7 separate regions of the Homo sapiens genome follow, and regions 2, 3, 4, 5, 6 and 7 are each linked to region 1. Evidence: promoter capture Hi-C in 16 types of primary human blood cells and fetal thymus (Javierre and others, 2016). All regions are on one chromosome and are shown on one strand. Each heading gives the region's core, a stretch centred on a gene start or on the middle of the fragment in contact. The rest is flanking DNA. Distances are from core to core; before and after follow the strand shown. Region 1 holds the start of ZFC3H1 (zinc finger C3H1-type containing). Region 2 overlaps HMGA2 (high mobility group AT-hook 2). Region 3 holds the start of LOC124903113 (small nucleolar RNA U13). Region 4 overlaps GNS (glucosamine (N-acetyl)-6-sulfatase). Region 5 holds the start of RASSF3 (Ras association domain family member 3). Region 6 overlaps LOC124902953 (a long non-coding RNA gene). Region 7 holds the start of LLPH (LLP homolog, long-term synaptic facilitation factor).

What was found. Contacts are between HindIII fragments. The CHiCAGO score rates a contact against its expected background, and 5 or more counts as called.
Region 2: a fragment that was not itself captured here is called in contact with the fragment with the promoter of ZFC3H1 in region 1 in 1 of 17 cell types (fetal thymus); the score reaches 5.0 in fetal thymus.
Region 3: a contact is called between a fragment that was not itself captured here and the fragment with the promoter of ZFC3H1 in region 1, in 3 of 17 cell types (naive CD4 T cells, total CD8 T cells and naive B cells). The highest score is 7.8, in naive CD4 T cells.
Region 4: a fragment that was not itself captured here is called in contact with the fragment with the promoter of ZFC3H1 in region 1 in 1 of 17 cell types (M0 macrophages); the score reaches 6.8 in M0 macrophages.
Region 5: the fragment with the promoter of RASSF3 here is called in contact with the fragment with the promoter of ZFC3H1 in region 1 in 4 of 17 cell types (naive CD8 T cells, total B cells, activated CD4 T cells and 1 more); the score reaches 9.3 in naive CD8 T cells.
Region 6: a contact is called between a fragment that was not itself captured here and the fragment with the promoter of ZFC3H1 in region 1, in 5 of 17 cell types (naive CD8 T cells, total CD8 T cells, fetal thymus and 2 more). The highest score is 11.7, in naive CD8 T cells.
Region 7: the fragment with the promoter of LLPH here is called in contact with the fragment with the promoter of ZFC3H1 in region 1 in 9 of 17 cell types (non-activated CD4 T cells, naive CD8 T cells, total CD4 T cells and 6 more); the score reaches 36.4 in non-activated CD4 T cells.

The regions. Positions count from the first base shown.
Region 1 is chr12:71,662,318-71,665,891 of GRCh38, reverse strand. It overlaps ZFC3H1 (zinc finger C3H1-type containing), which reads left to right and starts at 2,044. Exons shown (of 35, transcript NM_144982.5): 1 at 2,044-2,879. The coding sequence starts at 2,282. It overlaps THAP2 (THAP domain containing 2), which reads right to left and starts at 1,591. Exons shown (of 3, transcript NM_031435.4): 1 at 1,312-1,591. The coding sequence starts at 1,382. RefSeq lists enhancers at 1,582-1,941, 1,391-1,949, 2,302-2,421. The HindIII fragment of the contact is 1,665 bases long and covers 1,442-3,106 here.
Region 2 is chr12:65,827,040-65,831,154 of GRCh38, reverse strand. HMGA2 (high mobility group AT-hook 2) reads right to left here. Exons shown (of 5, transcript NM_003483.6): 2 at 3,068-3,154. Among named protein-coding and RNA genes, the nearest start is that of HMGA2, 4.6 kb to the right of the region's middle. The HindIII fragment of the contact is 2,838 bases long and covers 1,383-4,115 here.
Region 3 is chr12:64,760,432-64,764,545 of GRCh38, reverse strand. LOC124903113 (small nucleolar RNA U13) reads left to right here and starts at 3,573; the gene lies at 3,573-3,678. It also overlaps a transcript of TBC1D30 not described here. The HindIII fragment of the contact is 4,032 bases long and covers 1-3,528 here.
Region 4 is chr12:64,740,123-64,744,148 of GRCh38, reverse strand. GNS (glucosamine (N-acetyl)-6-sulfatase) reads left to right here. Exons shown (of 14, transcript NM_002076.4): 6 at 841-1,008; 7 at 3,461-3,543. Among named protein-coding and RNA genes, the nearest start is that of GNS, 17 kb to the left of the region's middle. The HindIII fragment of the contact is 4,530 bases long and covers 1-3,886 here.
Region 5 is chr12:64,607,645-64,611,780 of GRCh38, reverse strand. RASSF3 (Ras association domain family member 3) reads right to left here and starts at 1,286. Exons shown (of 5, transcript NM_178169.4): 1 at 1,038-1,286. The coding sequence starts at 1,148. It overlaps RASSF3-DT (RASSF3 divergent transcript), which reads left to right and starts at 2,315. Exons shown (of 2, transcript NR_187549.1): 1 at 2,315-2,436. RefSeq lists silencers at 757-826, 1,037-1,556, 1,717-1,786 and enhancers at 2,417-2,476, 2,697-2,746. The HindIII fragment of the contact is 11,544 bases long and covers 1-4,136 here.
Region 6 is chr12:65,163,332-65,167,215 of GRCh38, reverse strand. It overlaps LOC124902953 (a long non-coding RNA gene), which reads left to right. Exons shown (of 2, transcript XR_007063349.1): 2 at 1,670-2,447. Among named protein-coding and RNA genes, the nearest start is that of LEMD3, 4.3 kb to the left of the region's middle. The HindIII fragment of the contact is 5,889 bases long and covers 1-3,884 here.
Region 7 is chr12:66,128,878-66,132,541 of GRCh38, reverse strand. It overlaps LLPH (LLP homolog, long-term synaptic facilitation factor), which reads left to right and starts at 1,792. Exons shown (of 3, transcript NM_032338.4): 1 at 1,792-1,837; 2 at 3,429-3,646. The coding sequence starts at 3,436. LLPH-DT (LLPH divergent transcript) reads right to left here and starts at 1,791. Exons shown (of 2, transcript NR_125724.1): 1 at 1,567-1,791. RefSeq lists enhancers at 1,769-1,878, 1,919-2,068. The HindIII fragment of the contact is 2,232 bases long and covers 1,217-3,448 here.

The sequences.
Region 1 (3,574 bases), core at 795-3,294:
AAGTTCATTCCCGATGATGCTTGACCAGCACTTTCAGTAACACTACGATTCTCTACACTGCAGCCAGAGGACTTTTCAATATGCAAATCTAATCGTGCCATTCTTTTTTAAACCCTCCATGGTTTCTCAAGTACTCTTAGGATAAAACAGAAAATACTTAAGTAGCACACAGGACCCAATCTGTCATCCTTTGGTCTCATTTGAAATGTCACATCCTTTGAAAAAGTGTTCTTTGACTTTCCAAGACTAAGTTAGGTCTCTGAATGTTTCTTCTGTGGCACTTAATTATTTATGTCTTTCTCCACCATTAAATTCTAAATTCCAGGAGGGTTAGAACTTTCTGGATCCTTAGCACAATGTCAGGTAATTAGGAACTCCGTACATATTTGATGGATGAATGAACAAAGCACTACATATGCATGAACTAGTTTAAAAACAGAAACATCACAAGATTTTTTTTAAGTGGCAGCTTTTAATAAAAGTACAGTTCGTAATAGGTAGGGAAAAAGGTCAAGGATATAATTTCTACATACTAACATATACGTTGTTAGGTATATAAAATATATAAAATCAGGACTGGTGTCACTTAACTTTTTAATGTGTCTTTTCTTCGGGCACGTGGCAGGCACTTGCAGAGAAGGTAAACATTTACAGAGTACCTGTTATTTTCCAGGCATTGTTCAAAGTGCTTTCAAGAGTTCTGGTTTGACAGAACTAAAGAATTTTGATTTTTCTTCCAGCAAACAAAAGAAAACCTAGGTTCTTTTTATTACTCTATTCTAGTAAGAACAGAAAGGTTATCTTTTGCACTTTAATTAACATCGCTTAATTCCATGGCTATCAAAGATGACTCAATTCCTCCGCAGAATTACTATGTGACTATTAGAAATCTAAATGCCTCCCATGTCAATTCATCTAGTGAGAATTTCCTAATTTTAACGGGAACACAGCAGGCTTTTACGGTGATTGCTGATTGGGAAGATCTCTTTCTCCCTTACGGCGTCATTCATGTCAAGGCCCGGTCTAACAGAGGAATAAAACAGTAGAAAATTACGATATCCTCCTGTTACTTTTTTTTACTAAGGGGTAATGACCAAACAGTACTTGGATTTCTTTTAGAAAATGAGTAAAGCTTCCCCGAAAGCAGAGAACAATTGGGCAGATTTGAGAAACACAAAGGACATACGATGCTTCCCTGCTACCAGCTGGGAAAGTTATTAGAATTAGCAGAATCCTCCTGTTCCTTCCACACAAGCGATAGCCACAATAGGAACTCCAGTTTCCGTCACCCCCACTCCCTGCCCAGGTTACCTGTGGAAGCTGATGTTAATGTGCTTGTTGTAGGTAGTGGCACAGCCCGCCGCAGCGCAATTGGTCGGCATTTCCCTTTCCCACTCATTCAGCGCCCTTAGGTCTCTACTGAGGCGCTGGCTGCTAAGCTTTCTTCTGGCAGAGGCTGGACAATCGAGGCAGGCGTGCCTTAATCGTGAGAGCTTAGTCGTGAGAGCGGAGTGGGAAGAAGGGGTGTGTATGTGGGGGCGGAGGCGAAGGACGGTCAGCCTTCCCTTTCTCTTTATTAATATGGCCGACTAGAGCCCACAGAACTGGCCCTCCTGGAGCTCTAGTCGCCTTCGCTTGACTTCACCAACATGGCGGACACAACCCGTTCTTTCTCCCCGCCCCCAAGAGGGAGCGGATCTACTGCGTTTCTTTGGCAGCGGTCCTCAGAGCAATTAAAAGGAAGAGGTGTTTTCCCCTCCGATTACTATAAATTACAAGAGTTTTACAATAAAACTCTCTCAAGGCTGCAACAGCAGCTCCACCTACTTCTGCATGCACCCAACTGTACCAAGCCAGACCCTGCGGTGGGTGTGACCCTAGGACCGGAAGAGTAAACCCGAAGAAAGACGAAAGACTACAAATCCTAGTGAGTATCGAGTTGGTCTTATTATCGCGTGAACTGGGAGCCTTTGTTTCCTGCGTGTCGCAGGAAGTGACGTTTCGGGTACAGCCGCTACCAGAGTCCCTTTCTCGCGAGGCGGAAGAACCCCGATCGCTGAGGAGCAAGGGGGCGCTAGGAAAGGGAACTGGGTTGCGACGGTCCGGCGAGAGAGAGCTGGGGTGCTGGGGTGCGGGGAAGTTGGGGAGCAGAGGCCGCTTGGTGTCCGAGTAGGGTAAGACCGCACCGACCCAGTCCGTTAGGAAAGAAGGGAAACGAGGCAATTGTCGGGCGGATCCCCGGACGGAGGGCTAAGGTTGTGTGGAAGGCGCTGCTCCCCGGATGGCGACCGCAGATACTCCGGCCCCGGCCTCCAGTGGCCTCTCGCCGAAGGAAGAAGGGGAGCTTGAAGATGGGGAAATCAGTGACGACGATAATAACAGCCAGATACGGAGTCGGAGCAGCAGCAGCAGCAGCGGCGGCGGGCTGTTACCCTATCCGCGGCGAAGGCCTCCTCACTCGGCCCGGGGCGGTGGATCTGGCGGAGGCGGTGGCTCTTCCTCGTCATCGTCCTCTTCTCAGCAGCAGCTGAGGAATTTCTCACGCTCGCGGCACGCGTCTGAGCGGGGCCACCTCAGGGGACCCAGCAGCTACCGACCCAAAGAACCGTTCCGGTCTCATCCGCCTTCTGTACGGATGCCTTCGAGCTCACTGTCCGAAAGCAGTCCCCGGCCGTCTTTCTGGGAGCGGAGCCACCTCGCCTTGGACCGTTTCCGCTTTCGAGGCAGGCCTTACCGGGGTGGGAGTCGCTGGAGTCGGGGGCGAGGAGTGGGTGAGCGAGGAGGCAAGCCGGGGTGCAGACCTCCTCTGGGAGGAGGAGCAGGATCCGGGTTCAGCAGCAGTCAGAGCTGGCGAGAGCCCTCTCCACCTCGGAAGAGCTGTATCCTTAACGTGGCGGTCGGCGCTGGGTGTGTCACTAAAGTTCCCTTTAGCGTCATTACTAGGTCTGTGAGACGAGTGTAACTTTGAATCATCAGAACCGCTTATTTCTCCCTGTGTCAGTATACTTTAAGTTGTTCTTTGGTAATTCCCCATGTGTCACACTATAGCGTTATTCTTAAGACTGCTTCATTGGGTATATTAACGTGCTGTGGATTGGGTTAAGCTTATGAAATCTAAGACAGTTAAGTCTGATTTGTAATAATACCTTAGAAGCCCAAGTTTCATTAGCATTTGTATTTTTGCTGGTACAGAAACTTTGTGTTTTATATGAAGTTGACTTGGATTGTTAGAGAAAAAATATTCATAAACAGTTTAAGTAATATTGTTGCTTTATCATATTGCAGTTTGACGTTGAAAATTGTAAAGTTTTAATCTGCACAGTCCTGCACTATTTTTGTGATTCTGTTTTTATCTTGATTTATTCCGGTTGCTGCCTTTTAAAGTGGGGGGGGGAGGGGTAAAAAAAAAACAACTCTGGTGTCTTTACCAAGTCTGTTTCAGAGCTTTTTGATTCATTTGATCTTTTTGGAACACTTTACCTCCTTTACGTTTCTATCTGTGTTCACTTTTGCACATTGTGTAACTTCGTGCTGACTAAATGAGGGCCAGAGAGAGAAAGATAAACTTATCAGC
Region 2 (4,115 bases), core at 1,552-4,051, 5.8 Mb after region 1:
GACATAACTGGTCATAGGTGTACCTCAGACTAAAAAATAAATAAAAGGGTAAAGATATGCTCACACAGACGTATACACACATGGACAAATGAATTATTCAGGAAAACTTTAACTTCTGATTTCTTTTATTCAGGTAACTATATGAAACTGATTCAGGGACAAATTTTGAGCACTCAGATTGGAGTTCTGAGGAATGACTAGAATCATTACACAATGGTCATGCATAGTAATTAGTTTTAATGGAATATTAAGTAGATTGAAGAATAATTATCTTCTCTTCCAAAAGTTCCAAGCATAGGAAATTGTGTTCTTATAAATGTCTTTGTTTTACATATTATATAAATCAATTTTCTACTGAATATGGTTTGAAATTGAAGTGATGGCTAATTTAGTAGTCATTCACTTGGTCTTGCAACATTCTGCATGCATTGTCCAGTTTCACACTGTTAATTTTCAAATCAACAGCTTTGTTTTCAAATGTCCCAAGGCCAATTACTGAATCCAAATATAAACTTTGTAAGTCAAGAAACTCCAAGCAGCAAGAAATTTTAAGTATATAACCATCAGGATTTCAGTGTGCATTGCAGCTCCTCTAATTTTAGGCTTCTTTCTTCTCATATACTTACCAGTCTTTGCAATGTATTTTGCATTGTGATGGGTCTCAGTTTACAGGAAAACACTCACTTTGTTACTCATAGAAGACTTCTCATATCTATTCTGGTCAGTCTCACAGGGTATGTTTATCTTACATGTTATGAACAATATAACTTTTTCTAAAAAGATTTGCATTGCAAAATCCTGACGAACATATATGTTTTGTTAGAACACAATATATGCTTAATAAACAAATGTTTGAAAATCATATTTATATAGAATAGTAACATACTCAACAAATTCTGATTTGAAAGTGAAAATACCTTAAGTTTACACATGCCATGAACGATTCATCAATGTCATTCATTATTTTGCAAGGTATTCTCTTCTCCAGATGAAGCGTAATTTATAAAACTGAAGAAAAATAAGTCATGTTATGGGCAAATGTATTTATTCATTTTTATTACAAGAGGGATTTTTATAACACCATTGTAGGAAATAATTGTGTCTGAAAGAATGAAAGATTCTGGAGAAGGAATCTTTAGAAAAAAGAAAGCCTACTTCTGTTTTGGAAATTGGAATAATGTATGCATACACATGAAGAATTTTCAGAAAGATGAGCGGCGTAGGGGGGTCATTTACAAATGCCTGTCACTAGAGTCACTAAAAATAAATCAACCCTTACTTAGGAATAGATCAACTTTAAAAATTTTGCTTTAGGTGGTAAACTAGGCACTAGCTTCAGCTTCCCTTTTCTCAATACAAATTTTGTTAGTCAGTGGTAAGCTTTTTAAAATGAAGCGGAGGCGATGGGAGCGTTTCTATCTATTCATCCAAAAAACATGAAATATAGTAAAATATGGGAGACAATTCATTTTCCTTTTTAGTATTAAATTTCAAATTACTTATTTATGGTGAAATTTAAAGATTTCTTCCTAGGAGATATTATCATGATGTGTTTTTCAGAGGAATTATACCACAGCTTAAATGCGTGTCAGCTATCTAACAAGATATTCATTTGTGCATCTCCTTAGAATAAAAGTAAATTAGGTAAACTCCACACTTACACAACATAGAAAAACTCCTTGGTAAAATCAGTCCATTTTAGTTAATTTATAAATGAGATAAAATGAAACAAATGTAAAGTATTCATATTAAAAATACCAGATTATATATTGCCATTTTTAAATAACAAGGTTACTTAGAGCTATTTTAAAGTTTATTGATTAAATAAGAAACAATTAAATCTAAACTCTAAGAAGCAATTAAATTTAAATATATTAAAAATATGCTCCTCAACTCTGTTCAAAACTGTTAAAACAGACAAGAACTCAGAGTAACTTCCTAAATAACTTTATATGTACCATTAGTTGCTATGGCAGTTTACATACATTACAGTTAGTACCCACAGTCACAAAGAAAATCACACAAAACATTAATCCCCAAACGATGAGCATATAGTCCTTTCTAACAAATACTGTACATGGAGTACCCAAAACCGGTGAAAAGGTATATCCAAATTTAGTTCTGATTTTTGAAACTTTGTTCTCAATTACTACACAAACCTACAAATACAACGCAGAAACTTTTTTTTCCAATTTATTTATAAAGTCAAAAAAGTGACTGGTACTTCTCTATACATGCATTAACCCTGACATAGTTCCTCTTTGCTAGCTTAAACACAGCCAACCTGAAGTTATCTTAAACTGCAAGTTTAAACTTATTAAGATAAACACTGAATATTACACTTAACTGGGTTCCATTCTGCCCAAAAAGAGATATTAAATGAGCCAAATACTTGTTTTAAAAAGTCTCATTGTCCAATTCAGACATTTCTATGTCACTTGATGAAAAGGCATTTTGAGATTATGATATACTATACTGCAGGTTTATTGTAAAACAAACAGTATACTTTATTATCACAATTAAAGCTGCAAAATTCATGGAATTTTTCCACTATCCCACAACTAGATTTACTTCTAATTATCGTCTATTTGGCAAAGTACTTTAATAGGGGGATTTGGTTTGCAGTAGCCATGTAATAAGCACAAAGTAAATCAATCTTTATCATTTTTCAGAGGAAATTGCAAAAACTTTACCACCAGGCAAAATCTATAGTTTTGATTTGTTTTTAACTATTTACAACTGGTGCAAATATTAATTGTGTCATTTTCATCCCGCCCCCCCCGCAACCCCTTCCTTCCTCACTTCTACCCGTTTTAAGGTTCAAATTATTTGGTGGCTGTTTGTTTAAAAACAACACTGTTAAGTATCTTCATAAACTTTTTATGCTGAGCATCTGCTTACAAAAAAGGTTAACTCGCATCTAACTAATGTTAAATGTAAGAAATGAGTCTTGTGTTACCCAGTTGGGACAAATTCCTGGCTGCGGAGTTAGAATGGGAAAGTTACAGGCAGGCTCCTGTAGTCAGTCATTGATGAAGTTAGGAGAGCTTGACTTGAGAAATCTCACCTTTTGAGCTGCTTTAGAGGGACTCTTGTTTTTGCTGCCTTTGGGTCTTCCCCTGGGTCTCTTAGGAGAGGGCTCACCGGTTGGTTCCTAATTGTGAGGGAAAAAAAAATGCTGTTGTGGCAAGAATGTCTGAAAGAAATTGACCCTGACTCTTTAGCTATATTTTCTGCATGTGCTGCTCAAAAGAGCTGTTGGAACACGTTCAGTTCAAGCATAAATGGATGATGATGGTACAGAGTTTACAGAAAGGGGAAATAACTATACTTTTAATGCAAGGGTTCAAAGAGGAAACTCTATTTTGTATATGAAAACTAGATTCTACTTCAAACCTAAAATGGTAACAAAGACTGAAGAGGCATGTTCTAGAAAGAAAGTCATATACTTTTAAGGTGTAAAGTTTACAGGGCTATGCATTTGGCAACTCATAGGAATAATAGGCATTTTAAACGAACACCACTCTGCATTATACTAGCATTTCAAACAACAGAAATACGAAGCTACCATCACAGATATTTCAACAATCTTCCATATTGAAAAGGTGGCCTTTAATCATCTTTGTATACCTGCCTTCTAGGTGGATTATGATTCAACTGACACATTTTGAGTGAAATACTGGAGCAATTATTCAAGTTCTTCAGTTCAAAATAACTCCATTCCCCCTAAAATTTCCAAATAATTATAGTAAATCTATGGTGGGAGGTTTTGCTTGAATCATCTAGTTAATTGCTTCAATTCTCCACTTCCTTTTGGAGATGCAGGCATGGCCTCCAGTCTAAATTTAAATATCTTTTGATAAAAATAAACATATTTTCTTCAAAACTTTCTTTTGAGAAAACTCTTATGGGGGTGGAGTGGAGAAAACTAAAAGGAGGTAAAAGCGAGGAGGAATGGAGTGTCTGGGAATGAGAAATGGAAGCAATCACTTGGTTTAGCAAAACTTTAAATGGCTCCTATGCCAAGTAGTAAATACTCAAGTGGTTAAGAGAATGCGATGATTAATATTCCAGATCCCAAATATTTATCCAGTGAATCATCTATTCACATTTCA
Region 3 (4,114 bases), core at 263-2,762, 6.9 Mb after region 1:
TCACTTGTATAAAGGCATCTATATTGCCCTGTTTTCTAGTTGTTTTTAGCAAGAGAATTAGTCTGGCACTGTTACTCCATCGTGGCCAGAGATGGAAGTTTTGAGGTTATTAAACGTTAAGTGAAAGTTACACTTCAGAGGTCATGATGAAAAGTACTATTGTTCCTATAATGAAAATTCCACAGGAATTTTTCAACTAATAGCTGAATTGGATGCATTTTTGCTTAAGCTCTTGGAAAAACATGTCAAAATGAAAACACAACTTATTTTACTAAAACAATTTATGGAAAAAATTGAAATAATGAAAAAAATGTTTAAAAAGTGGTAAGTCAAACACATAACCAAACACCAAATACTATTATGTATTCTATTCTGGATATGACAACCACTGATGAGTTGGCAATTATTGGGCACTACTTTCTAACAGGAAAACCTATGAGCAATTTTTAAATATTTTTAGCCAACTGAAAACATCTGAGACATTATTCAACAAAGTAAAACAAGATTGTTATTTTAACCTGTGGTTAAACAGCATTTATAATCAGTCATCTGTTAACACAGCTATTATAATGATTAGGAAAAAGGGCTGCATGCTCTTTAAAAAACAGCTTGGCTAGGCTGGGCATGGTGGCTCACGCCTGTAATCCCAGCACCTTGGGAGGCCAAGGTGGGTGGATCACCTGAGGTCAGGAGTTCAAGACCAGCCTGAGGTCAGGAGTTCGAGACCAGACCAATATGGTGAAACACTGTCTCTACTAAAAATACAAAAATTAGCTGGATGTGGTGGTGTACACCTGTAATCCCAGCTACTTGGGAGGCTGAGGCAGGAGAATCGCTTGAACCTGAGAGGTGGAGGTTGTAGTGAGCCGAGATCATGCCACTGCACTCTAGCCTGGTGACAGAGCAAGACTCTGTCTCAAAAAAAAAAAAAAAAATTAATAGGATACAAAACCAAAGTGATAAAGATGAATGAGAAAGTAAAGAGAAATTATCCTGACATTAAGAAGTAAAGAGTAACCAAAAAAAGTTTAAATCATAAGAAAAACAGTAATTCATTAAGAGGAAGAGAATAATCATTTCACACTCTATACGTATATGAAAACATCATGTTGTACACCTTAAATACACATAATTTTGTTGTCAATTATATCTCAATAAAGCTGGAAAGAGGAAGAGATAAACTGCAAATGAAAGTAATAAATAGGCTATTAAATTGACAACTTGTGAATTATATAAACTCATTGAAAAATATTCAAATTTCTTTCGATTTGATCTCACACTAGCATTGAGGAAGATAACATAAAACTCACGCCTATAATCCCAGCACTTTGGGAGGCTGAGGCGGGTAGATCACCTGAAGTCAGGAGTTCGAGACCAGCCTGGCCAACATGGCGAAACCCCATCTCTACTAAAAATACAAAAATTAGCCGGGCATAGTGACGCATGCCTGTAATCCCAGCTACTCAGGAGGCTGAGGCAGGAGAATTGCTTGAACCTGGGACGTGGAGGTTGCAGTGAGCCAAGAGCGCAGACAGATCAAGACTCCATCTCAAAAAATAAAATAATACAAAATAAAATGCAGAATGTCACGAAATGCCTATGTTAAGAGGATATTTGATAGAGTTTTCTGAAATTTGACAAAAATACTAAACATATATATAAAACCAATAATGAACTGAGGTGAAAAATAATTTTTCTGAATTATCACCAATAAAAGGCAAATACTGATCAAACACACTAGAGAAAAAACTAAATTATCTTTCTATTTTCTTTAGAAAATATTATAAACTAACATCATATGAAGAGATGATTAAAGAGCACATAGCCATATAATGTAAGGGGAAAAAAGTATGAAGAAGTATGCCTGGCAGTTACTTAATAAAAATATGTTACGTTAAATTTTTGCATTATTTGTAATATTTTTCAACTTTTAAAAATTTATAACGTTATATTTTGTTTTAGTCTAAATACATATTCAGTTGTGTACCTACTTTTGTATCTAAAATTGTTATTCTTTTTCTTAAGGAGCCTCCACTCGCCAAATGCACATAAACTTCAGGCCCCACAAAATTTGAATCTGTCCCTGTTATCCACTTTTCTCTCTACCTAATTGGTCTACCCTCACCCATGCTTGTCCTCTTCCAATCTGTTCTTCATGCCACAGTCTAAAGGATCTTCTAAAAGTTCATGTATGATTATATTTATCTTACATTCTTTCAGTAATTTCCAATTAGCCTTACTATAAAAACCCAAGTCCTTAAAATAGGATCTGGGTCCTCACCACCTCTCTCCCTCTGCTCTAACCACACTGGCTTCTTTTAGTTATTGCAATGCACCAGCTCAGAACCTTTGCATATGCTGTACTCTGTGCTTAGGAGACATTCCACCACCCCAATACTCCATTAACAAATTATCTCCTACTCAAACTTCAGATTTCACTCAAAGATCACTTCCTCAGGGCACCTTAGACTAAATCAGCCTCCCACCACCTTAAATGCTCATTGCACCCTTTACTTTTCCTTCATAGCATGTCTATTTGTAATCATATACAAGATACAAGATTAGATTGTCCATCTCTCTGCCATTAGACTGCAAATTCCATGAACGAGGGACAATGTCTCTTCAGCACTAGTGTAGCAGTGTTACCGGAAAGGGGTCCTGATCCAGACATCAAGAAAGGGTTCTTGGATCTCGAGCAAGGAAGAATTCAGGACAAGACCATAGAGTAAAGTGAAAGAAAGTTTATTAAGAAAGTAGAGGAATAAAAGAATGGCTACTCCATAGGCAGAGCAGCCCGAGGGCTACTCGTTGCCCATTTTTATGGTTATTTCTTGATGATATGCTAAACAAGGGATGGATTATTCATGCCTCCCCTTTTTAGACCAGAGAGGGTACCTTCCTGACATTCCCATGGCGTTTGTAAACTGTCATGGCGCTGGGTGGGAATTTAGCAGTGAGGACGACCAGAGGTCACTTTCATCACCATCTTGGTTTTGGTGGGTTTTAGTCGGCTTCTTTACTGCTACCTGTTTCATCAGTAAGGTCTTTATGACATGCATCTTGTATCTTGTATCTTTATGACCTCCTATCTCATCCTGTGACTTAGAATGCATAACCATCTGGGAATGCAGCATAGCAGGCCTCAGGCTTATTTTACTCAGCCCCTTTTCAAGATGGAGTTGCTCTGGTTCAATCGCCTCTGACAGCAGCATCCTGAACAAAGTGGGCAACTAATTACACAATTTCTGGCCTCAAATAGTTTATAATCTAACCTTGAAAAAAATAGAAAAGAAACAATTTTACAATTTGGGGCTTCGATACAGATGAAATAGGTTATTTTTTTGTGCAAGAAAGTCTTCCTGGAAGTCTTGAAACCTGAATACAGAAGGATTAGTTATTCTAACCAGCTTGAAAAATTGGCCTAGGCCAAGGCTGTAACCAAGTATTCTGGTTGTCTAGGAACTGCTCTGACCACACTTCCGGCATAATTGTTTCTTGCAGAAAAACTACTTCAGTTTTTTTAAAGCTTCTTTTGCCTTCTGTAGGCTTACTTAAAAAAAAAAAGTATTAAGATCCTTTTGTGGTTCATAAGCCTGATGATTGGGTTTTCATGCTATTGTGTGAGTTACCACCCCTACCTCAAACCTTGTTAGGACTCCGCGCATTACCCCTCTGTGTGAAAAAAACAAAGTAATAAAGGTAATTTTTTTTTTTTTGCATAAGCCCTATCCTTGTACACATCAGGTTTCAACGTGTTTCCATCATTATTTTTACCTTATAGTATAGTGTTTTCACGAGTTTTTTTTTTTAATACTTTAAGTTCTGGAATAGTTTTCACGAGTTTTAAGAGACTCTTCTTGGCAAACAGTTCAACTCAGAGAAAATACTTTTACCAGCAAGGAGGTATACCTTGTTATATCGGTCTGGGGATGTGACTTGACAGTTCACCTTGCCAGGAATATCTCTGTGATTTTTTGTTTGTTTGTTTGTTTTGAGACAAGAGTCTCGCTCTGTCCCTGAGGCCAGAGTGCAGTGGCTCACTGCAAGCTCCGCCTCCCGGGTTCAAGCGATTCTCATGCCTCAGCCTCCCGAGTAGCTGGGATTACAGGCGCCT
Region 4 (4,026 bases), core at 372-2,871, 6.9 Mb after region 1:
TTACTTAGATAACATTTAAGCAGAAACCTGAAGTAGGTGAGAATGAGCTGTGCAGATCAGGGGGAAGAGTGCTACAGAGTCAGGGAATAGTAAGTAGGAGGGCCCTGAGGCAGGAGTATACCTGGCATATTTGAGAAACCACAAGGAAGCTGACAGGACTGGAGTGAAAGGTGGATGGAGGGATTATAGGAGATAGATACAGTCAGTATCTGTTGAGTTAGTGTTGGGAATACATGAAACTACTTCAGAACAATGAAAAACAACATGTATGTAGCATGCTTTCATTTTCATAAAGTATCTCCTGATAAGCAAAGGCAAAACTTAAGTCCATGTATTAAAACCCTAGTGGAATGTATTTGAATCTAATATTATTCACTTAGCTACTTCAGTGCATAATTTATGACATCTACTTTCTACATATTTTCATAAGGTTAAGGTAACTTAATCTACCTTTCCCACTGTTTTAAGTTGACTGTCTTTTTACATTCTTTAAGGCATCACATGTAGATACCATAATCTCCATTAGTGTAAGTTAATAGTAAAATATCCAAGTTACTGTTTCCTTCTTTGTGGGAGACATGATTTCTAGGTCATAAAAAGTCATCAAGATCTTAATTGCCTTCTTATGTTGGTATGCTTCTCAGTTTTTAAAGTATTGCCTAAAAAACAAATATATTTGTTCCAACAATATGCTTGCAAATGGCTATGACATAAGATCATGTGCTAAGATTGCTTAAAAGCTAGTAAGACCCTGTACTGTCTGCTCACCAGAAGACATTTATCTATTAAATACTCATCTGTTGGGTAAGGTAGGAGATGACAAATCTTTTTATGTGTCAGGCTAATGTCTCCTTGGACTTTCTGGACTACAAGTCCAACTTTGAGCCCTTCTTCATGATGATCGCCACTCCAGCGCCTCATTCGCCTTGGACAGCTGCACCTCAGTACCAGAAGGCTTTCCAGAATGTCTTTGCACCAAGAAACAAGAACTTCAACATCCATGGAACGGTAGCTTCCCCCACCACTTGTATTCAGCCATACTAAGTATCATTAACTATATGGTATACTTGTCAGGAAGCCTTTGAGCCATGTAGTGGGTTTTTCTTCACAATATTTTAAAGGTAATTGCATCTGTCCCTAGTACAACCAATAGTATAAACTTGCATTGCAAGTACAGATAAAGTTCCTGCTACACATCCAGTGAGCAGCTGGAGAGTTGACAGGGAATGGTAAAGAATGCCATCTTTCCCAATTTACAGGAATATCACTCAGGCTCTCCTGGTAACCTCTGTGCTGACTCTCCTCCCTCCTGGCATAGCCGGGACTGCACCAGCCTCCTGGTGGCCCTCACTAGCCTTTGAGGCATGGGAAGAAGGGGTGGCACAGAGCAATATGGTTGGAAAGGGAAGTTGAATGGAAAAATGAACGAGGTGACATGATTAAGAACCACAACAACCCATGTATTTGCCTCACGTGCCAATTACTTATACTTCCCTTGGCTTGGTGTATAGACAGTTCCCTGGTTCAAAGACAGAAGGCCTGCATTGCCTCAGGTTTGTTATCCAGAAATTGTAATTGCTTGTAAGGTTATAGAAAGAATGAGTCATAAAGTCAAACTCAGTACTACCACTTTCTAGCTCAGTACAGACTATGAGCACGATGCTTAACTTCATTTTTTCATGTGAAGTGGGAGTTCTTGATCCCTCATGGAACTACTGTATGAATTCAAGTACATAGAAACAATTAGCATATTGTCTGGCACATTATAGGCATGTGCTTGTTAAATACAGTTTCAAAGCTGAGTGAACTGTGTTTTAAATTAGAGTACTGGCCGGGCGCAGTGGCTCATGCCTGTAATCCCAGCACTTTGGGAGGCCAAGGCGGGCGAATCACGAGGTCAGGAGATTGAGACCATCCTGGCTAACACAGTGAAACCCCATCTCTACTAAAAGTACAAAAAATTAGCCGGGCGTGGTGGTGGACACCTGTACTCCCAGCTACTCGGGAGGCTGAGGCAGGAGAATGGCGTGAACCCGGGAGGCGGAGCTTGCCGTGAGCCGAGATCGCACCACTGCACTCCAGCCTGGGAAACAGTGCAAGATTCCATCAAAATAAAATAAAATAAGATGAGATGAGACAAGATAAGATAAAATAAAATAAAATAAATTAAAAAATAGTAAAATAGGACGATTCTCAATCTGTGTTCCAAAAGAAGTTAATAAAAAGTTCCCATGGTCAAGTAAGTTTGGAAAGTTTGAGTTAAATAAGTCACTCTGCTACAGGACTTCTCAGAGTTATTCATGATCGAATGTGAATTTCTAGCAGGAGAATATGCTATACAGCATTTCTCAAACTTAATAACACTTTGAGGAGCATAGTTTGAGATCTGGTGGCTTAGGGTTTTACGAATAGAGAAGAGAGAATAGTATATAGGGATGTCTTTGTTTAAATGGGAGGGCCCTCCAGATTTAGACTTGAAGTTTTAGGAAATTGCTGTAATAAGATTTTTCCTTAGGATCTAGGGTGACCGATATCTTGGCTAGGCAAAACTTAGAGGAAGGTAGACCAGGTATGGTGGCTTATGCTTGTAATCCCAGCACTTTGGGAGGCTAAGGCAAGAGGATCACCTGAGGCCAGGAGTTCAAGACCAGCCTGGCGAACATGATGAAACCCCATCTCTACTGAAAATACAAAAATTAGACAGGCATGTTGGTGCACGCCTGTAATCCCAGCTACTCAGGTGGCTGAGGCATGAAAATCGCATGAACCCGGGAGGCACAGGTTGCAGTGAGCCGAGATCGTGCCACTGTACTCCAGCTTGGGCTTGGGCTGGAGTGTAGTAGTGCGATCTCGGCTCAATGCAACCTCCGCCTCTGTCTCAAAAAAAGCAACTTAGAGGAAGGTAAAGTTATTTGCCCATTTTCTTTTTTTTTTTTTTTTTTGAGACGGAGTCTCGCTCTGTCGCCCAGGCTGGAGTGCAGTGGCGGGATCTCGGCTCACTGCAAGCTCCGCCTCCCGGGTTCACGCCATTCTCCTGCCTCAGCCTCCCAAGTAGCTGGGACTACAGGCGCCCGCCACTACGCCCTATTTGCCCATTTTCTAATTGTAGTAGACCAAAGGCATAAGATCAGAGTTGTAAATGTAATCTCGCTTTAGCTAGTAGTTTCCCAGTGACATCCTCTAAAATCTCTTAATACTGCCAACAGAGAAGCCAAGACCTTTTATGGTTTGGGAGGTGCTGGGAAGCTGAAGAATGAGAGATTGAGTTAATCTACAGAAATTTCTATTTTAGGAACACAGGAAGGGAGAGAAGTTCTGAAATTGCTTAAACAAGTTCCAGTTAGTTCCTTCTTGCTGAAGTATGAGTGAAACGGTTCTATTTATTATCTACTGTAGTAATCCAGTAGTTTGTTTGACTGTGGTGACTTGGTGTTAACATTTTTTTTCTTCTAAATTTTAGAACAAGCACTGGTTAATTAGGCAAGCCAAGACTCCAATGACTAATTCTTCAATACAGTTTTTAGATAATGCATTTAGGAAAAGGTAAGAGCTGCTGCTACATAACAATCTGAGTGGTTTTAAAGACCCTGCAAATCAGCTCATGAAGAGGAGACCACACCACATTGTTGTCTCTGAAACAAAAACAGAGGGAAGCAAGTCAGTGGGAGAGAGGCTTCGATGGGGCACCAGAAGCAGAGAGATTCCTTTACACTCAAATGAATGAGGTGGCATTTGGACCCCAGTACTAATTAGACTGCCCATTTTTAGGACTTGGCAAAAGTCTTGCAAACTTGAACCATGTGGTAGAATTTTTTCTCCTGCTTTAAAGAAAAGGTGACTTGGTTGAGAGAGCCCATTGTCATATGTGACAAATGACCCAAAAGCTTAGACAAGATCAAAATATCTGCCTTTGCCATTTGGAATTTTCAAGAAATTCTCTTAAGTCAATTTTTAAAAATCCATTACTTTCTCTTAGGAAGTGTTTAGTGTAGACCAGGGATAAGCAAACTTTTTCTGTAAAGGGGC
Region 5 (4,136 bases), core at 37-2,536, 7.1 Mb after region 1:
CACCAAAAGAAGTTATCATCCGGCCCCTGAACGATTCTTCTTGCTTCTAGTCTCTAGGTCTCAGTCCGGTATTAATAGAAATGTTTGGCGAACGCCTGTTTTCTAAAAGCAACAAATTTGTGCCATTACAATCTTCTGTAATCTGATGTGAGCGTGGCCGGGTTGGCCCGGCTCCCCTGGTGCGGCTCCTAGTGCCAGGAGGCCGCGGGCTCTAGCACCGGGCTCCTCAGTCCAGCCGACGTGCCCCGTTTCGGGAAGGCCTCCCAAAAAACACGGCTACAGCTGGCGAAACTGGCACAAGTTCCCTTCCCATCTTTTCCCAACTCGTGCTTCCCACGGCATGCTGCCTCCAAAAAAGGAAGAAACCGGCGAAAAGGTTAGCTGTCGCTGGCTAGTATTTAGCATAGGAGCTTGTTTGCAAAACATCTGGGCACCAAAAAACCTAGCTTTACAGAAAACGCACAACCCTGAGTCCCGCAACGGAGATTTAGTGAGAGCCTATGGTGGCGAGGCCCACGGTGCCCTTGGACCCCCACTCCACCAGGTCGCCCGGGCCAGGAAGAGGGGAGGTCAGGTCACCCGGCCACCCCTAGCTATTACACGTTGACCCAAGCCACTCTGGGGGCCACAGATGAGTAAGCTGACTAACAGGAAGGACAGGCGCGCGAACCCGACCGTCGACCCAGCGGGGACGCGAAGGGGAAACCTGGGGGAGTGGCCCGGGGACGCCTGCTGGCTCCGGGGCTGCTCCCCGCAGGCGGCAGCCCGAGGCGGAGCTGCAGAGGCCATCTGGCGCGGAAGGCAGAAGCCGGCCCTCAGCCTCCCCGCCCTTCCTCCGCCTTCCCTCGCCTACACGCACAAGCTCCAGGCACGTTCCCGGGACCCGAAAAGGCAGAAGCCACTTCTCGGCCCGCTCCTCCTTCCCGGCGAGCATCCCCCGAGCGCCCCGCAGAGACACGTGGAGGCAGGGGGCGCGGGCTGGCGGGTTCCCCGGAACTCTGGGGCGCGGGCTGCAGCGCCCGCCGCGCGCCACTCACTTGTTGGCCGGAGCGGGGCTTGCCCTGGGGCGCTCTCCTGAAGAAGGAGGTCCTGGCGGTGAAGAAGAAGTCCTCGGCGTCCTCCTCCAGGCTGCTGTAGCCGCTGCTCATGCTGCCGGTCCCGTCGCGCGCGGGCGGCCTCCCCGGGGCGCAGGCGGCCAGGGAGGGGGTGCGGCGCCCGCCAGCCCCGCGAGGTTCCCGGCGCGCAGCCCCGGGCAGTCCTTATGCAGCTGCGGCCGCCGCTCAATCAGGCTCTCCCGGCCCCTCCTGCCGCCTCCCCGCCAGGCTCCAGGCGCGGCTCGGCCCCGGTGCGCCCGCGACCCCGCCTCCCTGGGCCCCGCCCCGGACGGGCGACCGGCCGAGCCCCACCCCGCGCGGCCGCGACCCTCCCCGCCCGCCCGCAGGTGGGGGGAGCCCGGCCCGCCCCTTCCAGGCGCGCGGGTTTCTCCCGACAGCGTCGCGGAACCCGGAAAGCCGGGCGCTAGGGCTGCGTCTGCTGGGGCTGTGCTCGGGTCGCTTCCTCAACCTCCCGGAAACTGCAAATTCCTCTGCGAGCCGTCCGCCCGCCCCCAGCCTCGCTGGCTCGAGTTTCGGAGAGGGCGGGAGCAGAGCGGGGAACTTTCTCTGCGTCCACTCCCTGCTCGCCCCCGCACCAGGGTCCTGTAGGGGTGGGTGGGGGTTGCCCGGCCGAGGGACCCCCCAGGTCCCACGGCTTCCTGCAGCCGCAACGCCCAGTCCTGAACCCCAGCAGCTCGCCCCTCCAGGAGGATTTCAAGTTGGCAGAGATGGGTGGGGAGGTCAAAAACTGGGTTGAGTTTATTCGAATGAAAACATCCTTTCTGGTCATTCATTTGAGCTTCGGTCTTACCCTTTTCCCCTTCTTTCTAGCGAGGGCTCACTTCCAAATAAGATCGTTATCTTAGGCGCACTCAGTGCAACTGAAAGGTGAACTAGTTCTATAGTTACAGAACAATCGAGTGCTTATCAATTAAATGTGCTTTGTAAATGTCCCCGCCACAATCAGCCTTCCACGGTCACCCACAAGGCATGGTTTAAGTGGTGGGGATAAGGAGATCAGGGAATTCCATCCATCCACGTACAAAAAAAGTTTCCATGTTTTCTAAAACTCTTCAGTCAGCTAATCCTCTTAAAGCCACCAGTGGGTAACAGTCTTTTACACCTTGGTGTTACTGCACTGATTTAAATAATACTAATTTCAAGATCTTGACTGAAAGGTTTTTTTGAAGCTGCAAGCCCTGCTATAGTTAGCGAGCTTCAGAAGAGGTTTCATTAGGAGGGGAAGAGAGACGTTAGAAAAGAGAAAATGTCCATCCATCATAGCCAAACTAGCCAAACTCTCTTACATTATCTCCTTCAATCCTCCGAGCAACTCTGCAAGGTACGTAGTGCTATTTTATGCCGGTTTTACACCTAGAGCAGCAGCTGAGGCTTAAAGAAAGGAAAGTGGCTGTAGGAGGCAGTACTCGGACCGTTCTGCTTTGCGTTCTGTTGATCTGAACGTGGTCACATACCCTACTGGGTTCTCTGCTTGGTATCGGTCAGCCGTGCTCTTTTGTGGACTACAGGAGGAAGAGTTGGACCCGAAATGACGGGAAGGAGAGAAGAATTGACTCATGAGTCATCCTACTGTCCCTAGGCTGAAAGAAGGCTTGCAAACCTGCTCCACCTTCGGGCTTACACATCCATCTTGTAAACTAGTATATATTACCCCACGTGATTCACAACAACTCCAGAAGGAGGGCCTTTGAGTTACAGCCCATTTTAAAGGTCCTACAACATTAAAGTCTTCTTCTCGGCCACACAGCTACTGAATGATAGGAAGCCAGGAATTCTAACTCCATATAGTTTCACCCAGCTTAAGCTGATCCGTGTGTGTGCCATGCACATAATCTAATGTAGGAGAATAGGGCTTTATGACAAATTTTTCTTATTTGGTTTCTCTTATTTCATTATTCAGATATAATATTAGCGCAGCTCTTATTAAATATTCCAAGGTAAGAATAATGTGTAGGTTAAGGGCTTAAATTACTCATTTTATTGTGGGTAGAAAGGGGAAAATAATTTTACCTAGAACAAGTTGAAGTTTATGAATACTTTGAGGAAAAATGCATTAAAATGCTTTATTGGCCGGGCGCGATGGCTCACGCCTGAGGAGGCAGAGGCGGGTGGATCACTTGAGGTCAGGAGTTGGAAACCAGCCTGGCCAACGTGGTGAAACCCCGCCTCTACTAAAACTACAAAAATTAGTTGGGCGTGGTAGCGTGCGCCAGCTACTCGGGAGGCTGAGGCAGGAGAATCGCTTGAACCCGGAGTGGCCTAGGTTGCAGTGACCCGAGGTGGCGCCATTGCACTCCAGTCTGGGCGACAAGAGCAAAACTTCGTCTCAATAAATAAATAAATAAACTTTATGATGCACCACACCATAAAAATGATTTTTTTCATTGTATTATTTTTAAGCTCCAAAGGACTGGATTAATTTGTATATCTGTCAGCATACCATCAGAATCAGTTATAATAAAAAGGCATGATTGAGTGGGGCACAGGGGGAAGCTGAGGTGGAGGATCACTTGAACTCAGGAGTTCCTATCCAGCCTGACCAACATAGTGAGACCTTTTCTCTAAAAAAAAATGATTTTTTTATAAAGGCATGATTAGGCCAGGCATGGTGGTTTACGCCTGTAATCCCAGCACTTTGGAAGGCCGAGGTGGGAGGATTGCTTGAAGCCAGGAGTTCAAGACCAGCCTGGGCAACAAAATGAGACCCTGTCTCTACAAAAACAAAAACAAAAAACAAAAAAAAATTAGCCAATGTGGTGTCACATGCTAGTGGTCCCAGCTACTCAGGAGGCTAGGTGGAAGGATCACTTGAGCCCAGAAGTTTGAGGCTGTAATGAACTATGATCTTACCACTGCACTCTAGCCTGGGTAACAGAGTAAGAGTCTGTCTCTTAAAAAAATAAATAAATAAAATAATTTTAAAAGCCATGATCAAATAATGAAATGGAAGCACTGCTTTTAAGCAACAAAAAAAACATAAATAAAGGAAAGGGCCGAGTGAGGTGGCTCACGCCTGTAATG
Region 6 (3,884 bases), core at 972-3,471, 6.5 Mb after region 1:
TAAGTCCAATTAAGAGTTAATGAAGATGAGCCGGGCGCAGTGGCTCATGCCTGTAATCCCAGCACTTTGGGAGGCCGAGGCGGGCGGATCACCTGAGGTCAGGAGTTGGAGACCAACCTGGGCAACATGGTGAAACGCCATCTCTACTAAAAAAAATACAAAAATTAGCCGGGCGTGATGGCGGGCGCGTGTAATCCCAGCTACTCAAAAGGCTGAGGCAGGAGAATGGCTTGAACCCGAGAGGCGGAGTTTGCAGTGAGCCGAGATAGCACCACTGCACTCCAGCCTGGGCGACAGAGGGAGACTCCACCTCAAAAAAAAAAAACAAAACAAACAAACAAAAAAACTACAAAAAAAAAATTAGCCAGGTGTGGTGGTGCATGCCTGTAATCCCAGCTACTCAGGAGGCTGAGGCAGGAGAATCGCTTGAACCCGGGAGGCAGAGTTTGCAGTGAGCCAAGATCATGCCACTGCACTCCAGCCTGCGTGATGGACCAAGGCTCGGTCTCAAAAAAAAAAACAAAACAATTTTTTTTTAAAATGTGGATGATATTGCCTACCCTACCTGGCAGACAATTCAATCAATATTTGTTGAGAATGATGAACGAACACTGTATGTGAAAATGTTGTTCAAATATTTTGTTTACAAGTTAGGTATTATCAGATATTAATAATAACGACAACTATGATTGATATACTACTTTATACTTTTCAAAGAACTTTCATATACATGACCTTGTTTGATCTACAAGAAACCTTTCCTCTCTGAAGATACTAGAGCATGATTTATTTCATGGAACTATATGGGTTTATAATTACCCTTTGTTTGGTGTTTGAGAAGACCCAACGCTTTTTCAGGAGAACCTTCACTGCCTCAACACTGTCACTGCTCACTTCCAACATTCTCCTCATTTGCTAGTGGATCTTGCTCCTGCTTCCAGACTGGCTAACACTTAAAGTATGAGGCTCTATTCTTGACTGTACCCAGATACTTGACAGGGAGTGCAATCTCAAACTCAGTCCTGCTCCATAACTTCCAAAAATCTGAGGGAAACAATTTTGATGGATTCTGGTCCAACTCTTCTTTGAGGTGCTTTTAATTTCATTTCTGCCTTAAGCCTCCTTATGAGAGACCAATGTAGCTTGGGCCACATTACTAACACGCTGTTCCTCCTACTCTCTTTCCCTACCCACCCTGTTCCCAATAGAATACCTTTCACCATGTCACCCTTTTAGCCTTGACATCAGTTTATATTGAAGAATGATATGAACGCAACATTTTGTTCAAATAAATATATTGCTGAGAGTTCATTTCATTAAAGAATGTCCTTTCTGGTCTCATTATTAGAAATAGTTGTGTTTTTCCAGAGCAACTCATTTGTTGTTGTTTTAATTTTTACTGAAATGACATTCATATAACATAACATTAATTGTTTTATATTATTTTATTTTTGAGACAAAGTCTTGCTCTGTCACCCAGGCTGGAGTGCAGTGGTGCTATTTTATGGCTGAATAATATATTTCATTGCATGAATGTGCCACTTTTTATTTATCCATTCATCCACTGATGAACATTTTGGTTGTTTCCACCTTTGGTAATTGTGAATAATGCTACTATGAACATTGGTGTATAAGTATCTGTTTGAATAGCTGTTTTCGTTTTTTTTAGGTATGTACTTCAAAGTGGAATTGCAGATTATATGGTAATTCTATGTTGAACTTTTTGAGGAATCACAAAAGTTAATTTGTTTTTAACTTTATGGATGTGTTCAAGCAAATAAGGAAGCCATTAGGCCCATGCGGTGCCTCACACCTGTAATCCAAGCACTTTGGGAGGCCGAGGAGGGATCACTTGGGGTTAGAAGTTCAAGACCAGCCTGGCCAACATGGTGAAACACATCTCTACTAAAACTTCAAAAATTAGCTGGGTGTGGTGGCCCGTGCCTGTAATCCCAGCTACTCGGAGGACTGAGGCAGGAGAATCGCTTGAACCCAGGTTGCATGAGCCGAGGTCGCACCACTGCACTCCAGCCTGGGTGACAGAGCAAGACTGAGTCTCAAAAAAAAAAAAACAAGAAGGAGGCCATTAGCCTGAGGTTGTCTCTGCACCTAGAGCTCTTATATAAGCAAACTGAAACTGAAGTGGAAGCAGTTCTTGTAATTAACTTAAAAAAAAACAAAACCCACCAGCTTCTGCCAATCACAAACAGCCAACCAGCTGATTGGATATATAACTAGAGACTTCCCATCAGACCATACCCAAATAAGGCCAATGCATAGCTGTAGCCAATCAGGTAATTTCTTTACTTTGTTTCCATGTTGTGGCAAAACAAACAAACAAACACCTCCCTGCTTTGGCTGCTAAGGCTGAGCCCATAAACTTTTTGGTTTTGATGCTTCCCAATTCATTAATCATTATTTTCTTTAAATAAACTCTGTCAAATTTATTTTGTCTTAAGTTTTCCTTTTAACAGATGGACACTGTTTGGTGACTTGCCATGTTTCTCCCTTTGAGATGACAGCTAAGAAGTTTATACTCAAATTTGCAGTCCAGTCAGAGCAAGTGTATAGGGCTACATAGCCTATATTTTATACATTAACCTTATTGCTGAGTCCATCTAAATTTCTTAACTTTATTTTTGTGTACCTCATTTTAAAATATTTTTATTTTATTTTGGTCAGGCATGGTGGCTGATGCCTGTTATCCCAGCACTTTGGGAGGCGAATCACTTAAGCTCAGGAGTTCAAGACCAGCCTGGACAGTGTAGCAAGACCCCATGTCTACAAAAAGTTAAATAAAATAAAAATTAGACAGGCATGGTGGTGTGCACCAGAGTCCCAACTACTTGGGAGGCTGAAGCAGGAGGATCGCTTGAGCCCAGGAGTTCAAGGTTGCAGGGAGCTGTGATTTCACCACTACACTCCATCCTGGGTGAGAGAGCAAGAGCTATCTCTGAAAAAAAGAAAGAAAGAAAACAAAAACAAAAAATCTTTAAGATGTTTTTAATGTTTACTTTATCTTCCTAATATGCATCTTTTTAGCTGCCTTAAATCATTTAATTTATATAATTTTATATAATTCATCTGACAACCCAACGGGTAGGTTTTCTTAGTCTTCATCTTCTACAGATGAAAAAACTGATAGCTAGCAAAGTTACTTGACTCAAGTCTCGATAGATAAATGAGAAACTGAAACCCAGGACCTCTGAGTCCAAATTCCTTGTTCTTTCTACTATACCATACCAATCTTGAATACCTTTGTTGAGTCATACAGTTATATGGTGGTAAAAAGAAACTTAGTTCCCTCTTTTCTCACCCACCCTAAAGAGGAAGGTGTCTGTAATGGGGTGAAGAAGAGGACAAAGGCTTTTACAATTAACCTGTTTCTTTTCTTTGTTGCTACGTGCAACAACTGGAAAGAAAACTCAAAAATATAAAATTGATTATATCACTTACCATTTTAGCAGATCAAAGCAGTAACACAATATTATATTGATGTTATCACTTCGCTCTGTTGCCCAGGCTGGAGTGCAGTGGCATGATGTCGGCTCACTGCAACTCTGCCTCCTGGGTTCACGCCATTCTCCTGCCTCAGCCTCCTGAGTAGCTGGGATTACAGGCACCTGCCACCACGCCCGGCTAATTTTTTTGTATTCTTACTAGAGACGGGGTTTCACTGTGTTAGCCAGGATGGTCTCAATCTCCTGACCTTGTGATCCGCCCGCCCCGGCCTCTGGGATTACAGGCGTGAGCCACCTTGCCCGGCCGATGCTATCACTTCTCTTAAATACCTCTAGGATGTGTTCACTAGTTTTGATCTACAAAGTTCCTGATGTTTATTTTTCTTTTTAATTGCTCAACACTAACACTGCTTATAAGGAAGA
Region 7 (3,664 bases), core at 543-3,042, 5.5 Mb after region 1:
AGTTCTATATATAGGCTCCTTCCAGCTCTGTGATGAGCCACTGCAATGTTTAGTTGGACCCTTAAGCCTTGTTTGTCCATTAGGAGATAAAGTTTCCCAAAAACAGTAGTTTAGTTTCCTTCATCTTTGCAAATTCAGCATAGTGCCTATAATAGAGTGCATATTCAAAGGCATGAATGAAGGAATGAATTAGACTTTTAAATATACTAAGGCCACTTTTCTAGAACTGCTTTTATATAACTGGTGAGGGGACATAAGTAAAAAGGAGTAAAAGGGTGTTTTACTCAGCTGTTTAAAGCACTTGTAATGCTAAATCATGGCATGGTATTTTAACAACATGACATTTTCATAATAGGTAAATTATTTTTTCTGGTGCCAAGTGCCTATTCAAAAGTCTTGTCCTGGTATGTTAAACAAGATACAGTAAATATGGACTATCAGAATATAAGTTTTCTCTAAAATGCAATGTGCACTTATATTTTTGGGTGAGGTAGCTAACTTCTCATTTGAAAGATGAGGTACAGTATATGGTTAACTTGTAAAACAGAAATTCACTTGCTTTATAAGAACGAAATCTCATTTAAATAAACCAGGTTTCTTAGGCATGCTTCCTTTTTTTATATCAAATGTTCTAGGTTTTTTTCAGCCTCTTTAACCTTGCTATATTCTGAATTCAGTAATTTCCATACTATGCATGGTTTCATAAAGGACACAAATTTAAAGAAAAAAGGTACCCATAGATTGCCTCAGAACCCCTTTTTCTGGCAACCAGCAGGAGTTTACCAGGCCATCATTAAAGACATGTTTTTTGGGTATATGTCGTAAATCTCTAGAAACATTGCTTACAAATAGTACTGTGTAGCTATACTTTTGAAACTATAATGTAAAAAGGGTACCATTTGTTGAACTCTTACAGCATCAATTAGGTTGTATTATGTTCACTTTAGGGACAAGGAAATTCAGGCCCTTATGACATTAATTACTCACCCATATCGTTCACAAGTGTTGGAAGCAAGAGTACAACACAGACCTATATGGTTCCAAAGCCTATGCCAGTAGAAATAGTTGTACAGTAAGTGTTATTCGTGAGCTAAGACAATCGTCCTAGGCTTAGCATTGTGTCTGATACGTAAGTGATCAGACAGGTAAACATTGATAGAACTGAAATCCTTTGATCATTTTACCCTTTAAATTCTTCTCTGGGGTAGGAAAAGCTTGTTTTCTGTTTTTGGTAACCGCTTTGAGTATAACTGACATGCAATAAGTTGCACATATTTAAAGTGTGCAGTTTGATACGGTTTTACATATGTGTACATCTGTGAGGCCATCACCCGAGATGAGAAAATGCACAGGCTGCAAATAAAAATGATCTCAATACGGCCTCTGGAAGAACACCTGATCTAGGCTGACTTGATCTAAGGAAATACATGAGTATCATGTAAACGCTGAGGTCAGATCTAAAGGTCGGCTCGGAGCTCCCTATCTGACAAGTAGGGTCCCCTGGCCAGGTTCACTCCATAGGTTAGTCTCGGGGCTACCCTGCCCACGTCCGGAAAGCGGACCTACCTGGGGCCTAACCTTGACCGGACACCCGTCAGCATTCTCCAAATCCGACTTCTACACCTGTATGGGACGGACCAAGTTTCTAGGTCCGCGATCACACCAATGGCGGAAGCTCGTCAGCGCCCGGGTTCCAAAATCCCGCCTCTCAAGGCTTCTTGAGACATTTTGTCTCCCGGCGTGCAATGCGTCCGCCCCGGGTGGCCTCCGCCCGGAAGACGGAAGTGCAAAGACTTCCGGTCGGCGTGAGCGTGAGGTGTGGGTGTTCGTTTCTCAGGTGAGTTCGGTTCCTCACCGGTCCAGTGACACATGGGACTTGGGGCTTGATTCCGCCACCCTTGGAGAATTTCGTTTCTTGACACTCGCTGGGCTATACTTGAGCTCCAGTCCGGAGATGCAGGCCTTGTTGAGGGCGAGGGTTCCCCTTGCTCTTTTTGGTGGGGGCCCTCCGGCTTCCGAGTGCACTGGATAAAGTGGAGCCCACCCCTGTCGTTCACTCCCGCTGAAGTTAACTTCGGCCCTCAAGGTTGTTTGCCGCCCGCTTTCCTAGCCCCTCGCAAGGGTTGAGTTATGTAGACAAGGGAGCGGAATGACTGTGATTGCCGGCGTTCAAAAAATGTTAGTGGTTCGTTCAACAAGTATGCAAAAAGTGTGCGATTCAGCAGTGAACAAGACCTTTCCCTCTACCTTCGTGGAGTCTACAGTCTGGGGAGAGGGTCGGGGGGCGTGACAGAAAACAATGGTTTCAGGTTGTAACACTTAATAAGCAGGGAAGGGAGCTTACGGAGGTCAGAGGAGTCCTTTCTGAGGTAGCGAATGAAGGAGCAAGCCTTGAGAAGAGCAGTTGCCAGGCATAGGGACAGCAAATATGAAGGCACTGACGTAGAGATAGTTTGGACTCTTTACAGACGTAGTTGGTGCCTGCGGGGATGGGGATGGAGAATGAAATGAAATAGAGTTGAAGGAGGCAGGGGACAGATCACAAATGACCTTGTAGATCTTGAATATATATGAGGGAGGAGGTCTTTAAAGAACTCGAAGAAAGGCAGTGAATGCTTTTTTAAAAGATCACACTGAGCACCTTGTGGAGGATTTAGGGCGGAACTGAGTGGAAAGAAAACAAGAGTAGGAATAGATAAGTTTACAGTCGTTAAGTTGGCTTGAGAGGATGGATAATGAAGATGAGGTGAAGTGTTTATAAAAATCATTTGTAATTTGTAAGCTGTTGCATAAATGTAAGGTGATGACGCTGTTGCATTCTGGGGAAATTAAATTTCTGTATTTTGTAAAGAAATTCAGCCGGGCGCGGTGGCTCAAGCCTGTAATCCCAGCACTTTGGGAGGCCGAGGCGGGCGGATCACAATGTCAGGAGATCGAGACTATCCTGGCTAACACGGTGAAAACCCGTCTCTACTAAAAATACAAAAAATTAGCCAGGCGTGGTGGCGGGCGCCTGTAGTCCCAGCTGCTCGGGAGGCTGAGGCAGGAGAATGGCGTGAACCTGAGAGGTGGAGGTTGCAGTGAGCTGAGATCGCGCCACTGCACTCCAGCCTGGGACACAGAACAAGACTCTGTCTCAAAAAAAAAAAAAGAAAAAAGACATGCAAGGTGCTTTCAGAATTGGTTTGATTTGTAGTTTGCTTATGACCACAAGTTTGATTTGATATCTTGTTATTTAGTGACTGTGTATGTACCATGTTGATCTTCATATAAGTTGCATGTTAAGTCCTAAAAAGTGAACAGATTGAAGAGTTTTACTTTTCACTTGTTTTGTAGAGATACCTGTTGGCCTGGTTTTCTAAGGATTTGCCTGTTTTCTTTTTTATATTAAAGATTTGCTTTTGAATGTGTGTTTTTGTTAACTTCAGGTAAAACATGGCTAAAAGCTTACGGAGTAAGTGGAAAAGAAAGATGCGTGCTGAAAAGAGAAAAAAGAATGCCCCAAAGGAGGCCAGCAGGCTTAAAAGTATTCTCAAACTAGACGGTGATGTTTTAATGAAAGATGTTCAAGAGATAGCAACTGTGGTGGTACCCAAACCCAAACATTGCCAAGAGAAAATGCAATGTGAGGTAAAAGATGAAAAAGGTGAGTGTGCTTCTCCTT